Regions from separate parts of the Homo sapiens genome. Here all the other regions are linked to region 2. The links are contacts of gene promoters, found by promoter capture Hi-C in blood cells and fetal thymus (Javierre and others, 2016). All regions are on one chromosome and are shown on one strand. Each heading gives the region's core, a stretch centred on a gene start or on the middle of the fragment in contact. The rest is flanking DNA. Distances are from core to core; before and after follow the strand shown. Region 1 overlaps FAM167A-AS1 (FAM167A antisense RNA 1). Region 2 holds the start of FDFT1 (farnesyl-diphosphate farnesyltransferase 1). Region 3 overlaps FAM167A (family with sequence similarity 167 member A). Region 4 overlaps BLK (BLK proto-oncogene, Src family tyrosine kinase).

Region 1 (2,700 bases), core at 23-2,522, 390 kb before region 2:
CCTTAACACCATGGGTCCGCAGGATAAAAGTGAAAAAACCGTTTGTTTAAGAGGCAGAAGGGCAAGACCAGGACAGATATGTGTTCTCAGACCTCCTCTACTGTGGCTCTGACAGGGAGTAGGTGGAGGAGGCACTGCAGGGCAGAGCGAATGAACAGTTCCGACCACTCCAGCGCCTGGACCTGCTTCTTGTCATAGGAGGAGACCCCCCTGATTGCTGAAGCCCTCTGGCTCTGACAGCAGAGCCAGATGCTCTAAGAGACACGTGCTCTAAGTCATGTGTCCCAGCAGCTCGGGGGCGACATAAGGTCATGCCTCTCCTAATACTTTATGCGATATAATTCTGAGCCGCATTTCATCACGACAAACCTTTCTCCTCTCCCTTTTTCACCAAGACTCGCTTGTCCCTGGGGCTGCCCCTCACAGGTCTGCTCTGCCCCTTGAAGTGGAGGATGTCACCCCTCCATGGCCTGGGTTCCCAGTGTCATGGCCCCTGTGATGGGGCTCACCCACGTCCCACAGTCTGGCCTGTCTGGGATCACAGCGTTCCGGCAGTTAGAGATGCTTCAGTAGCGTTCATCTGGGAAGGAGCCAGGAGCCCTTTCTTCTGGAAGGCTTCTTGGCCCCAATACAATCACTTGTCCATCCCTCCCTAGCAATCTCAGTGGGGAGTGGAGGGTCTGGCTCCGGCAGAAGAAGAGGAGTCCTGACTTGCCTTTCCTCTCACTCACTGAAAGGGGCCATGCTGGCGTCTGTCTCAGGAAGACTCACTGTCTCGTCTGCTAGAAATAGAAGGGGCTGGAGTCTTTTAAACACAAATTCTCTTGCTTAAAAGAAATCAAGTTCTGCATCTCAGGGTGCCCTGCAACATTTTCATGATGGTTCCATCAGCTGTGTCTTTTCTGAGACAGAAAGAGAGAGAGAGCACGTAGGCAGCTTTGCAGAGCAAGGTGGCTGGATGGGAGCCAGGATCCAGGAGGTGACCCCGCTGTCCTTCTGTCCCCTGCAGAAAGTGGGCAGTAGGGCCTCCTGCCTTCCTGCTTTGGGCCCCCTGAAGGGCTGTGCTGTGTGGAGGTGACCTGCCAGGGGCCCGCCCAGAGATGAGAGGGGACTGCAGTCGCCCGCCTGGCTGGAGCTAGCTCTGGGCTCACATGGACAATGGGTGATGGCAGGCCACTCTGGGTGGTGGAATGGGGCGTCAGGGACTGGGGCCTTCTGCAGGGCTGCTGGGTCTTGCATCTGCTCCTGCCCCTGAGCCTCAAACTCAGAAGCTGTGATTTCTAGGCCCTGTTCTTAGACTTGACCAGAACATTCTGAAAAGGGGAGATGGGGGCAGTGCAGGAAAGGAAGGCTGGTTCATGTGCTTGCATTTGGTGACCATATCCCATCTTAAAAATAACCTCCTGCGTTTCACTGTTTCTTGCACCTTCTCTCTTTCTTGGCCTTCTCCCCATTTCTCTCTCTCCCTTCCTCTCTCTCTTGCTTCCTCTCTTCCTCCCCCTCTCTCTCCCCACCTTCTGTTTTCTACCCCTGGTGCTTCTGACATGGGCTTCATTGTGGGTTTGAGATAGGAGTTGGGGAGGGCTTGTTTTGCAGGGTACAGATCACAAAGACCCTGCTGATAAAATGAGATGTGGTCAAGAAGCCGATCAAAATCTAGCAAAACCAAGATGGGAACAAAGGCAACCTCTGGTCGTCCTCACTGCTCATTATACGCTAATTATAATGCATTAGCTGCTAAAAGGACACTCCCACCAGCGCCATGACAGTTCACAAGTGCTGTGGCAATGCCTGGAAGCTACCCTATATGGCCTGAAAGGGGGAGGAACCCTCAGTTACGAGAATTCCCTGCCCCTCTCCTCGAAAACTCATGAATGATCCACTCCTTCTTCAGCATATGATCAATAAAGAAATAGCCAACCAGCAGTCCCGGGCTGCTCTGCCTATGGAGTAGCCACTCTTTTATTCCTTTCCTTTCCTAATACATTTGCTTTCACTTGACTCTGTCGGCTCACTCTTGAATTTCTTCCTGTGCAAAGCCAAGAACCCATGTGGCCTCCCAGGCTGAACCCGGTTTAGGGGTTTGTCCTGTGACAGGTCTGTCAAGGGGAACAGAGCCCAGAGCAGATTGGCAGAAATATGGTGCCTTTTACCCAGCGACTCAGGTGTGTGCAGACGCCATATGTGGCCACACAGGGGCAGTAGGACACTGGGCAGAGGCTGTGCCCGTGCCACCTCGCATGAGGAAGCATCGTCCCTCATCCAGTTTGGCACAGCCTGAGGCTTGGATATGGGGTGAATCCAATGTGGCGCAGGCAAAGGCCGGGCCTCACTCTTGTCTGACTTGCCCTCCATCTGTGAAAATGTTTGTGCATTCCCCAACAGATTTATATAATATACATGTCTGTACCCATATATTATACATATTTAGAGCACATTGAAAGCAGAAAAGAAGAGGTTTAAAACATTAATAGAAGTTCTCGTCTTTTTGCGTGCATGTGACAAGGTTTCATTCTGTGGCCCAGGCTGAAGTGCAGTGGCGTGATCGTGGCTCACTGCAGCCTCGACCTCCCCAGGTTCAGGTGATCCTCTCATCTCAGCCTCCTGAGTAGCTGGGCATGTGGGTAGCTATTTTTTCTACTTTTTGTAGAGATAGGGTCTCACCATGTTGCCCAGGCTGGTCTAGAACTCCTGGGCTCA
Region 2 (2,700 bases), core at 182-2,681:
TACCTGACAGGTTTCCTGTTTGTTTTTGAGATGAAGTCTCGCTCTTGTCCCCCAGGCTGGAGTGCAATAGCGCGATCTCAGCTCACTGCAACCTCTGCCTCCTGTGTTCAAGCGATTCTCCTGCCTCAGCCTCCCAGGTAGCTGGGATTATAGGCGCCTGCCACCATGCCTGGCTAATTTTTGTATTTTTAGTAGAGACGCAGTTTCAGCATGTTGGCCAGGCTGGTCTTGAACTCCAGACCTCAGGTGATCCGCCCGCCTTGGCCTCCCAAAGTGCTGGGATTACAGGCATGAGCCACCGCGCTCGGCTAGACCTGACAGGTTTTAAAAGGATTACTGGTTGCTGTGTTAAAACAGACTGCAGGATGGCTTAGGTAGCCAGTAGGTTTTTTTTTTTTTTTGGAGACGTAGTCTTGCTCTGTTGGCCTGGCTGGAGTGCAGCGGTGTCATCTTGGCTCACTGCAAACTCCGCTTCCCGGGTTCAAGTGATTCTCCTGCCTCAGCCTCCGGAGTAGTTGGGACTACAGGCGCCCACCACCACACTCGGCTTTTTTGTATTTTTAGTAGAGACGGGTTTCACCATGTTGGCCAGGATGGTCTCGATCTCTTGACCTCGTGATCCACCCGCCTTGGCCTCCCAAAGTGTTGCGATTACAGGCGTGAGCCACCACGCCTGGACGGGTAGCCAGTAGTTTCTAGGGCTGGAGAGATCTAGGATGAGAGAAGTTTCCACATTCCTGTTACAGGCTCTCTAAGGCTTCAGCTCCTTTTTCTAGGACTAAGCTGGATCTCAAGTAAACACTAGAGAGGGGGCAGCTGAAGCTCCAGGAGTGTGTGGGGCTCCCTGGGGCTGGATGGCGGTGGCGGGCAGGCGAGCTGGGCTGTGCTCGGGTGTGTTACAGTAAAGACGCCCAGCTTGGCGCTGGCCCGGCCTTTTCACGGTTTTAGGCTCTACAGAGAGCGGCTGCAGAGCTCACCCGGCTGGCAGGAGCCACCGAGGCCGGACACGTGGGCGACTTATTGACCAAGTGGGGAGGAAGCAGCCCCGCACTGCTCTCCCGACTGCGGACCACCGTTGGGCTCCTGCGCATCCTAAGCCCCACCGCCTCACCTCCAGTCCCCACAGCGTTCGCGCTCCCAGCCGGGGTAAGCGGAAGAAAACAAAGGCCCGGCTCCATCAGGGCACCAATCCCGCTCGTCGGCCTCTTTCTCGGCCTCCAATGAGCTTCTAGAGTGTTATCACGCCAGTCTCCTTCCGCGACTGATTGGCCGGGGTCTTCCTAGTGTGAGCGGCCCTGGCCAATCAGCGCCCGTCAGCCCACCCCACGAGGCCGCAGCTAGCCCCGCTGGCGGCCGAGGCCGGTTGAAGTGGGCGGAGCGGCGGGCGGGGCGTCGCCGTACTAGGCCTGCCCCCTGTCCGGCCAGCCCCTCGAAGCACCTACTCCACAGGTCCAGCCGGCCGGTGAGCGCCTGGGGACCGCAGAGGTGAGAGTCGCGCCCGGGAGTCCGCCGCCTGCGCCAGGATGGAGTTCGTGAAATGCCTTGGCCACCCCGAAGAGTTCTACAACCTGGTGCGCTTCCGGATCGGGGGCAAGCGGAAGGTGATGCCCAAGATGGACCAGGTGGGCCGAGCCTCCCTGCTTGCCCGGGGCGGGGAAGGAGCTCGCTGGGCCGGCCTCAGGGCCTGAGCGGCCGGGCCCGGATCTGGGGCAAGGGGCGCGGCGAGCAGGGCCGACGCCTGGGTGTTCCCGTCCCCCTTTCCTCGAGCCTTCCCCCTGTAGGGCCCGGGTGGACGCGGCCGTCCTGGCTGACCTGTCCCTGCCCCCGCAAGCCGCCCTGGGCATGAGCGACTTTTGCGTGGTTCCCGGTGGTTGCGCTCCCCGTTTCGTCCCCTCCGTGAGCATCGGCGCTTACCGGTATTTTAACCCGAGGGTTACACATCTGAGGCAATGTGGGTGGGTTACGCGGGAGAGGACGAGTGAGTTTTTTGGTAAGCGGAATGAACTATGCAGATAACATCACATGAAGGCCGTTTCTGGAATGAAGTCTGACTCCTCCAGTTTCACCACCTCTTCCGGAGCTCTCCCCGCCTTGCTGCCTTCCATCGCTTCATCCTCGGTGCTTCCTGAGTTTTAAAATCGCCTATCTACGCTTCCAAGTTCCAATGAGTTATCTAACGTCTATGGATTAGCTAGGTGGTTGGTGGAAGGTCAGAACTTGGTTTTACTTAGATTTTTATCTGCCTCATGCCTGTACTATTTGTTTAATGAATGCATAGGAGGTGTTTTTATTCCAACAAGAAAATTATTCGTACGCGATTATTGAATGAATAGACAAATTCAGCCAAGTTCTTCTGGTCTGGACCAGCCTGGCTGATTTCTGTAACTTTTTTGGGCCAACAGGACAGTAGCAAATGTGACTCAGGCCGAGGCTTGATAGGTGCCTGAACATCGGAGTCTTTCTTTCAGTGTCCATGTGCTTCAGTAAACACACTAGAAAATAAATTTCTGGTTTTTGTCCCCAGTAGACTACACCCTCATTTGGTGTTATTTTTCACGTGCTATCTTTAATACAGGTACATCCTTCAGTCTATTTGTAGAACATTCAGTTTTCTTCATCTTTTCTTTGCCGGTGCTACATTATTTGAATTATTTTGCTACAGAATAACTTCTATTATTTGATATGGCAGATGTCACTTTT
Region 3 (2,759 bases), core at 219-2,718, 350 kb before region 2:
GTGCTCTCTGCATGGCAGACCAAGGCCAGGCCCCAGAAGCCTGGTTTCTGGTCCCAGCACTGCTGACAAGCCGAGCACCCAGGCTCAGTCCTTTCCTCGTGGCCTCAGTTCCCTAATCTGTGCAATGGCTGAGGATCTATGGAACCTGGTATGTGAGAGCTCTCTTTAAACTGTAAAGAGCTGTACCCACCTGAATAGGCGTGTGTGCAATGTGGAGAGGCCTGAGTTGGGGAGTCACTATTTTAGAGCAGGTGGTCACCCGTAGCTGGCAGGAACGGGATTGCCCCCAGCACAGCCAGATGGTGAGGAGCTGCTGCAGGAATGGGATTGCCCCCAGCACAGTCAGACCGCGAGGAGTTGCTCAAGCAGCATGTGTTTTCCTGGTCGTCAGTGTTTGGGGAGCACTGTCCCCCTGGGTGCCCTGGTGCCTGAACAAGCCCAAAGGGGTTTCTTCCCTCCCACTAGGCACAGGAGCTCAGCTGGAATGTCACCCACACAGGCGCAGGGACGTGACAGCAGAAAAGCTTGTCACTGCTCACTGGGCACTGAGCTGGACCCGGCCTGAGCCGGCAGAGAGGTGCTGGCCGGGTGCCGGGGAACAGATGCCAGCACTGGGCAGCTTCCTGGGCTGGAAAAGCAGTGGAGGCCTCCCCTCGCTTGACAAACCAGGGACTCCTGGGGCCCAGGCCCCGGGAGGAAGAGCCCCCCAACACTCTAAACAAACGGGCTTTCTTTACATGTAACCTGGGTCGTTCCTAGGGGTGGAGGGGCCGGAGAAGGAAGCCAAAGGACGCTGCCAGACCTGGGACCTAGGGTGTCTAGAAAAACGACATCAGACCCTGTAATCCCACCAGGCCCAGGCACGCCCCGCCAGGCAGGCCACCCAGCAGCAGTGGGGACAAGCCCTTGGGGGGGCGCGTCAGCCTTTCTGCAGCTCTGTGTGCCAGTGCCGAGGACCCATGCCACACACAGAGACTGCTGTTCCAACAAGCTCCCTGGCTCCCAGGCCCACAGCGGCTCCTTGGAGGAGCCTTCGCCAACCATGAGCTAACTCCTCTGGCTGCTGGAGGAGCCAGGTGGGGGCAGCTCAGCCAACACCTTGTCTCATTATGACCTAATCTGTTCACCTGGAAAACGGTCACATCCACTTCCTCGATGGGCTCCCAAGGGCAGGGGAAGACGCAGGCACTGCTGACCCATCCCCTCCACACCTCCTCTCACCACGCGCTCCTGCTGTTCCTTCCAGCCTCGCATTCTCCACTAGAACCCTTTCGTTTCTTCTCCATAAGACACAATCTTTCCAACCCCGACCCAGCACTCCTGTCCCGCCGGACACCATGCTCTTTCACACCCCTGACTCGGCACAAGCTTTCCTCCAGCCTGGAAAGCCCTTCACTCCCTTCTGTGCCTTAGTTCAGTTCTCAGGGATTTTCTCCTGGGGGAAGTTTTGCTTGATTTGCCCAGGCTGGGCTGTGTGTACCCAGGACAACCCGAGCACATCAGAGAAACAATTATGTCATCGCAACATTAGCTAATGCTTACAGCACACCACACGAGCTGTGGTGCTAAAAGCTTTACATGTATTAACACATTTAATCCTCACAACAGCCCTATGAATCTGGGGTATCATCATCCCCATTTTACAGATGAAGAGACTGAGGCATAGACAGGTTCGGGACCTTGCCTGAAGCCACAGAGCTTATAAGTGGTGAAGCTGGGATTTGAACCTCTGCAGTCTAGCTCTGAGCTGGCCCCTAACCACTGGGCTTACTGCCCCTCTTAAGCCACAGCACTTACACCCAGGGCCTTTGTCAATGGTCGCCTCTAGCAGACTCTCAACTTCAGGACGAGAACCAAGCCTTTTATGCTGGACCCTCCAGTACTTAGCACAATGCTGCTCTCTTTAAATGCTGTGGAATGAATGAGCCAATAAAACAGATTTCCTCCCACTCACAGCGACCTGTCCTTGCTCAAATCTGAGCCAGCCTGGATGGGCTCAGAGAGGCAGAAAAAGACACCCAGGCTTCCTGGGATGGTGCCTCCCCTCCTGTCCCCACGGATGCCACCCACCCTGCCTGCCCTGACCACAAGTGTCCAGACATAGGTGTGCAGGCTCTGGGCCTGCAGTGGGACAAAGACAGGAACAGCTGCAGCTCATCCCAAATCCCAGGACTATGTGCTGGAGTTGGAGGGGACAGTCTGATGTGACAGACCTAGCTTGAGGGCCTCCTTGGAGTCCAGTGCAGGATGAGGTCATTTCCATCCAGCAGCTTCCTCCCTCTTCTGGAAAGTGCATCCCCCTTTCCCACAGGAGCCCATCCCTGGGGTTTCCTTTCTCCTGGGGCGTGGGGAGACACAGGATGAAGTTTTGGTGTCAGAACCACTCAGAGGCCAGCCTTGCTCTGAGCTGGCCGGGGCCGCTGGGGCCACCATGCTCAGCACATGTGGGGAAAGGGTCTAACTGGAGAGCAAAGCCAAGCCGACAGTGTGGCAGCTTGGCCATCACAGCCCAGTGGCAAGGAGCTGGGGGCCCGCAGCTGGGCCCCGTGGGAAGCCACCCGCCCTGCCCAGGTTACACAGCGTATACCTTCCGCCTTTTTTGCTTCAGCTACTTGGAGATGGGGTTTCTGACATTCGTAAGTGACTGACACAGCACGCACTGGAGAAGGAATATTAAAGAGCACAGTGGATGCTTGCTGCTATTTGTCTTTCGTTGGACTGTGTGTCTGTTTGCCATATCCAACACCCTCTCCTTTCCT
Region 4 (2,737 bases), core at 157-2,656, 270 kb before region 2:
CGAGATTATGTCCTTTGCATGGAAGTGGATGGAGGTGGAAGGCATTATCCTCAGCAAACTAACGCAGGAACATAAAACCAAACACTGTATGTTCTCAATTATAAGTGGGAGCTGAACGGTGAGAACATATGGACACACAGAGGGGAATAACACACACTGGGGCCTATTGGGGAGCGGGAAGGAGAGCATCAGGAAAAATAGCTAATGGATGCTGGACCGAATACTTAGGTGATGGGTTGATAGGTGCAGCAAACCACCATAGCACACGTTTACATATGTAACAAACCTGCACATTCTGCACACGTACCCCATAACTTAAAATTTAAAATAATAGTAATAATAATAATTAGCCCTAATATAAGGAGTGAAAGTGTAAATCGCCCAGTGGGTTCACCTTGCCCGCTGCCTAGACAAAGCCAATTTATCAAGACAGAGGAATTGCAAAAGAGAAAGAGTAATTCACACAGAGCCAGCTGTGTGGAAGACCGGAGTCTTATTATTACTCAAATCAGCCTCCTTGAGCATTCGGCGATCAGAGTTTTTAAGAATAATTTGGTGGGTGGAGGAAGCCAGTGAGTCGAGAGTGCTGATTGGTTGGGTCAGAGATGAAATCACAGGGAGTCAAAGCTGTCTTCCTGCGCTGAGTCAATTCCTGGGTGGGAGCCACAGATCAGATGAGCTGGTTTCTTGATCTGGGTGGTGCCAGCTGATCCATCAAGTGCCAGGTCTGCAAAATATCTCAAGCGCTGATCTTAGGAGCAGTTTGGGGGGTGGGAGATCAGAATCTTGTAGCCTCCAGCTGCATGACTCCTAAATCATAATTTCTAATCCTGTGGCTAATTTGTTAGTCCTACAAAGGCATCTAGTTCCCAGGAAAGAAGGAGGGTTCTTCTGGAATGCGCTGTTATTGTCTTCATTTTTAACTACAAACTATAAATTAACTTCTTCCCAAAATTAGTTCAGCCTATGCCCAGGAATGACCAAGGACAGCTTGGAGGTTAGAAGCAAGATGCAGTTGGTTAGGTTAGATCTCTTTCACTGTCTCAGTTGTAATTTTGCAGCGGCAGTTTCAAAAGTCCTAGCTTCAGGAGTCCCTGTAGAACTGACCTGAAGCCTCAAGGAATCCAGGTGAATAACCCCAAAAATCAACCAAATATGGGGTCATCAGCAGAAGCTCAAGAACAATGGATGAGGCTGGAATCTAATAACAGGTGTGCTGTAGCTGTTTTGAAACATAATTTTTCTCTCTCCAGTTTATTTTTACTAAAGACAAGACCAATTTATTTGCAAAATAAGCTTGCCTTATTATACTTTGCCTAATTATTTACATAAAGTGCAGCAAGAATAATTATTGGCCATATAGGCTCTTTTTTTCTAACTGGCTTTGCTGGAATTTTTTTCATAAGGAATCTCAGATTAGACCTTTTAAAAGTCTCTTGAGCCCAGCCAAGGATTTATTTGTGCCTGCAGATACTTGTATGAATTGGGTGAATTCCTTTCTTCTTGAGGTCCCAACAAAGCTTGGAGTTCCTGGGCCTGTCAGAAAGTGACATTCTTTATTTGCCACAGGTCGGGAATCCTGTACAGGACAAGGTAGGAGGTCAGTTCCTCCAAGGGGCTTTCATCATCTCTGTAGGTCAGCCTCGATTTCTTAAAGCAGTCTGAAAATATGTCATTTCAGTCAAAGCCTTGGTAAAATAAGCAGTGTCTCCAACTGTGTCTTGCTACAAAAGAAAACACATTCTTATTGAACTTACTCAAGTAACTATATTGCCTTATGTTAAAAATACTCACAAATAATTTCCAAATTCTGGAGAAGGCAGGTAAAGAGAAAGAAATATGCTCTAAATTTTGTTTACAGGAGTATATTTTGCTCAATTGTTAAAAGTTGTAAATAGCTCAGTAGAAGTTTTCTTTACTCTGAAAAACAAAACAAAAAGAATCAGCAACAATTTTAAGTGAAAAGTCGAAAAGATTTTTCCAGTTACTGAATGTTTTGGTTGTTTCCAGCTGGGAGCTAATTAATATGAGTAACAATGCTAAGAACATATATGTCAAGTCTTTCTGTGGTCATATGTTTTTATTTCTCTTTGATAAGCAACAAGAAGTGAAATATCTGGGTCACAGGTTAAGAAGCTCCCAAATTGTTTCCTAAAGTTGTTTCGTTTCACCTTACCATCAGCCTCAGGTGAGCATTCTAGTTTCTCCATATGCTTGCCAACACTTGGTATGATCGGTCATCTAATTTTAGCATCTGGGTGGTTGTGTGGTGGCATTTCACTGTGGTTTTAGTTGCCATTCCCCTAATGACTGACGACACCGAACACCTGTTCATGGGTTTGTGTGCTGCTCAGCTGTCTTCTCTGTTCAACTGTTTGTTAAATTGAATTTTTGGCTTCTTTTATAGAGTTTAAAAGTTAATTATATATTCTCATATAGATACATGTTTTTCAAAAATGTCCTGCCTGTCTCTGATTTAGCTATTTCTTTTCTTAATGGTGTTTTTAAAGTGCAGAAGTTCTTAATTTTGAAAAGTCTAATTTATCAATTTTTCTTGTATACTTTATGATCTTCTATTCTAAGGGAATAATCTATTCTAAGGGAATAGAAGGTCACGTTTGTATGCTTCTGACTCATATTCTTTATATCCTTTGTGACACCAAGGTCACAAAGATTTCCTTCTAGGTTTTCTTCTAAGAATATAATGTACCTCTTTAAAGCAGCTTTTAAGATTGTT

What was found. Contacts are between HindIII fragments. The CHiCAGO score rates a contact against its expected background, and 5 or more counts as called.
Region 1: a fragment that was not itself captured here is called in contact with the fragment with the promoter of FDFT1 in region 2 in 1 of 17 cell types (total B cells); the score reaches 5.7 in total B cells.
Region 3: a fragment that was not itself captured here is called in contact with the fragment with the promoter of FDFT1 in region 2 in 1 of 17 cell types (naive B cells); the score reaches 6.7 in naive B cells.
Region 4: a fragment that was not itself captured here is called in contact with the fragment with the promoter of FDFT1 in region 2 in 1 of 17 cell types (naive B cells); the score reaches 7.2 in naive B cells.

Annotation. Positions count from the first base shown.
Region 1 is chr8:11,411,683-11,414,382 of GRCh38, forward strand. All of the region lies in intron 3 of FAM167A-AS1 (FAM167A antisense RNA 1), which reads left to right. Among named protein-coding and RNA genes, the nearest start is that of FAM167A-AS1, 45 kb to the left of the region's middle. RefSeq lists an enhancer at 1-112. The HindIII fragment of the contact is 4,489 bases long and covers 1-2,700 here.
Region 2 is chr8:11,801,310-11,804,009 of GRCh38, forward strand. It overlaps FDFT1 (farnesyl-diphosphate farnesyltransferase 1), which reads left to right and starts at 1,432. Exons shown (of 8, transcript NM_004462.5): 1 at 1,432-1,622. The coding sequence starts at 1,524. LOC105379243 (a long non-coding RNA gene) reads right to left here and starts at 46. Exons shown (of 3, transcript XR_948962.4): 1 at 4-46. RefSeq lists enhancers at 1-221, 222-963, 1,001-1,160 and silencers at 1,231-1,480, 1,691-1,810. The HindIII fragment of the contact is 12,361 bases long and covers 1-2,700 here.
Region 3 is chr8:11,448,779-11,451,537 of GRCh38, forward strand. All of the region lies in intron 1 of FAM167A (family with sequence similarity 167 member A), which reads right to left. Among named protein-coding and RNA genes, the nearest start is that of FAM167A, 17 kb to the right of the region's middle. The HindIII fragment of the contact is 204 bases long and covers 1,367-1,570 here.
Region 4 is chr8:11,528,781-11,531,517 of GRCh38, forward strand. The region is part of intron 1 of BLK (BLK proto-oncogene, Src family tyrosine kinase); the gene reads left to right. Among named protein-coding and RNA genes, the nearest start is that of BLK-AS1, 28 kb to the right of the region's middle. The HindIII fragment of the contact is 224 bases long and covers 1,295-1,518 here.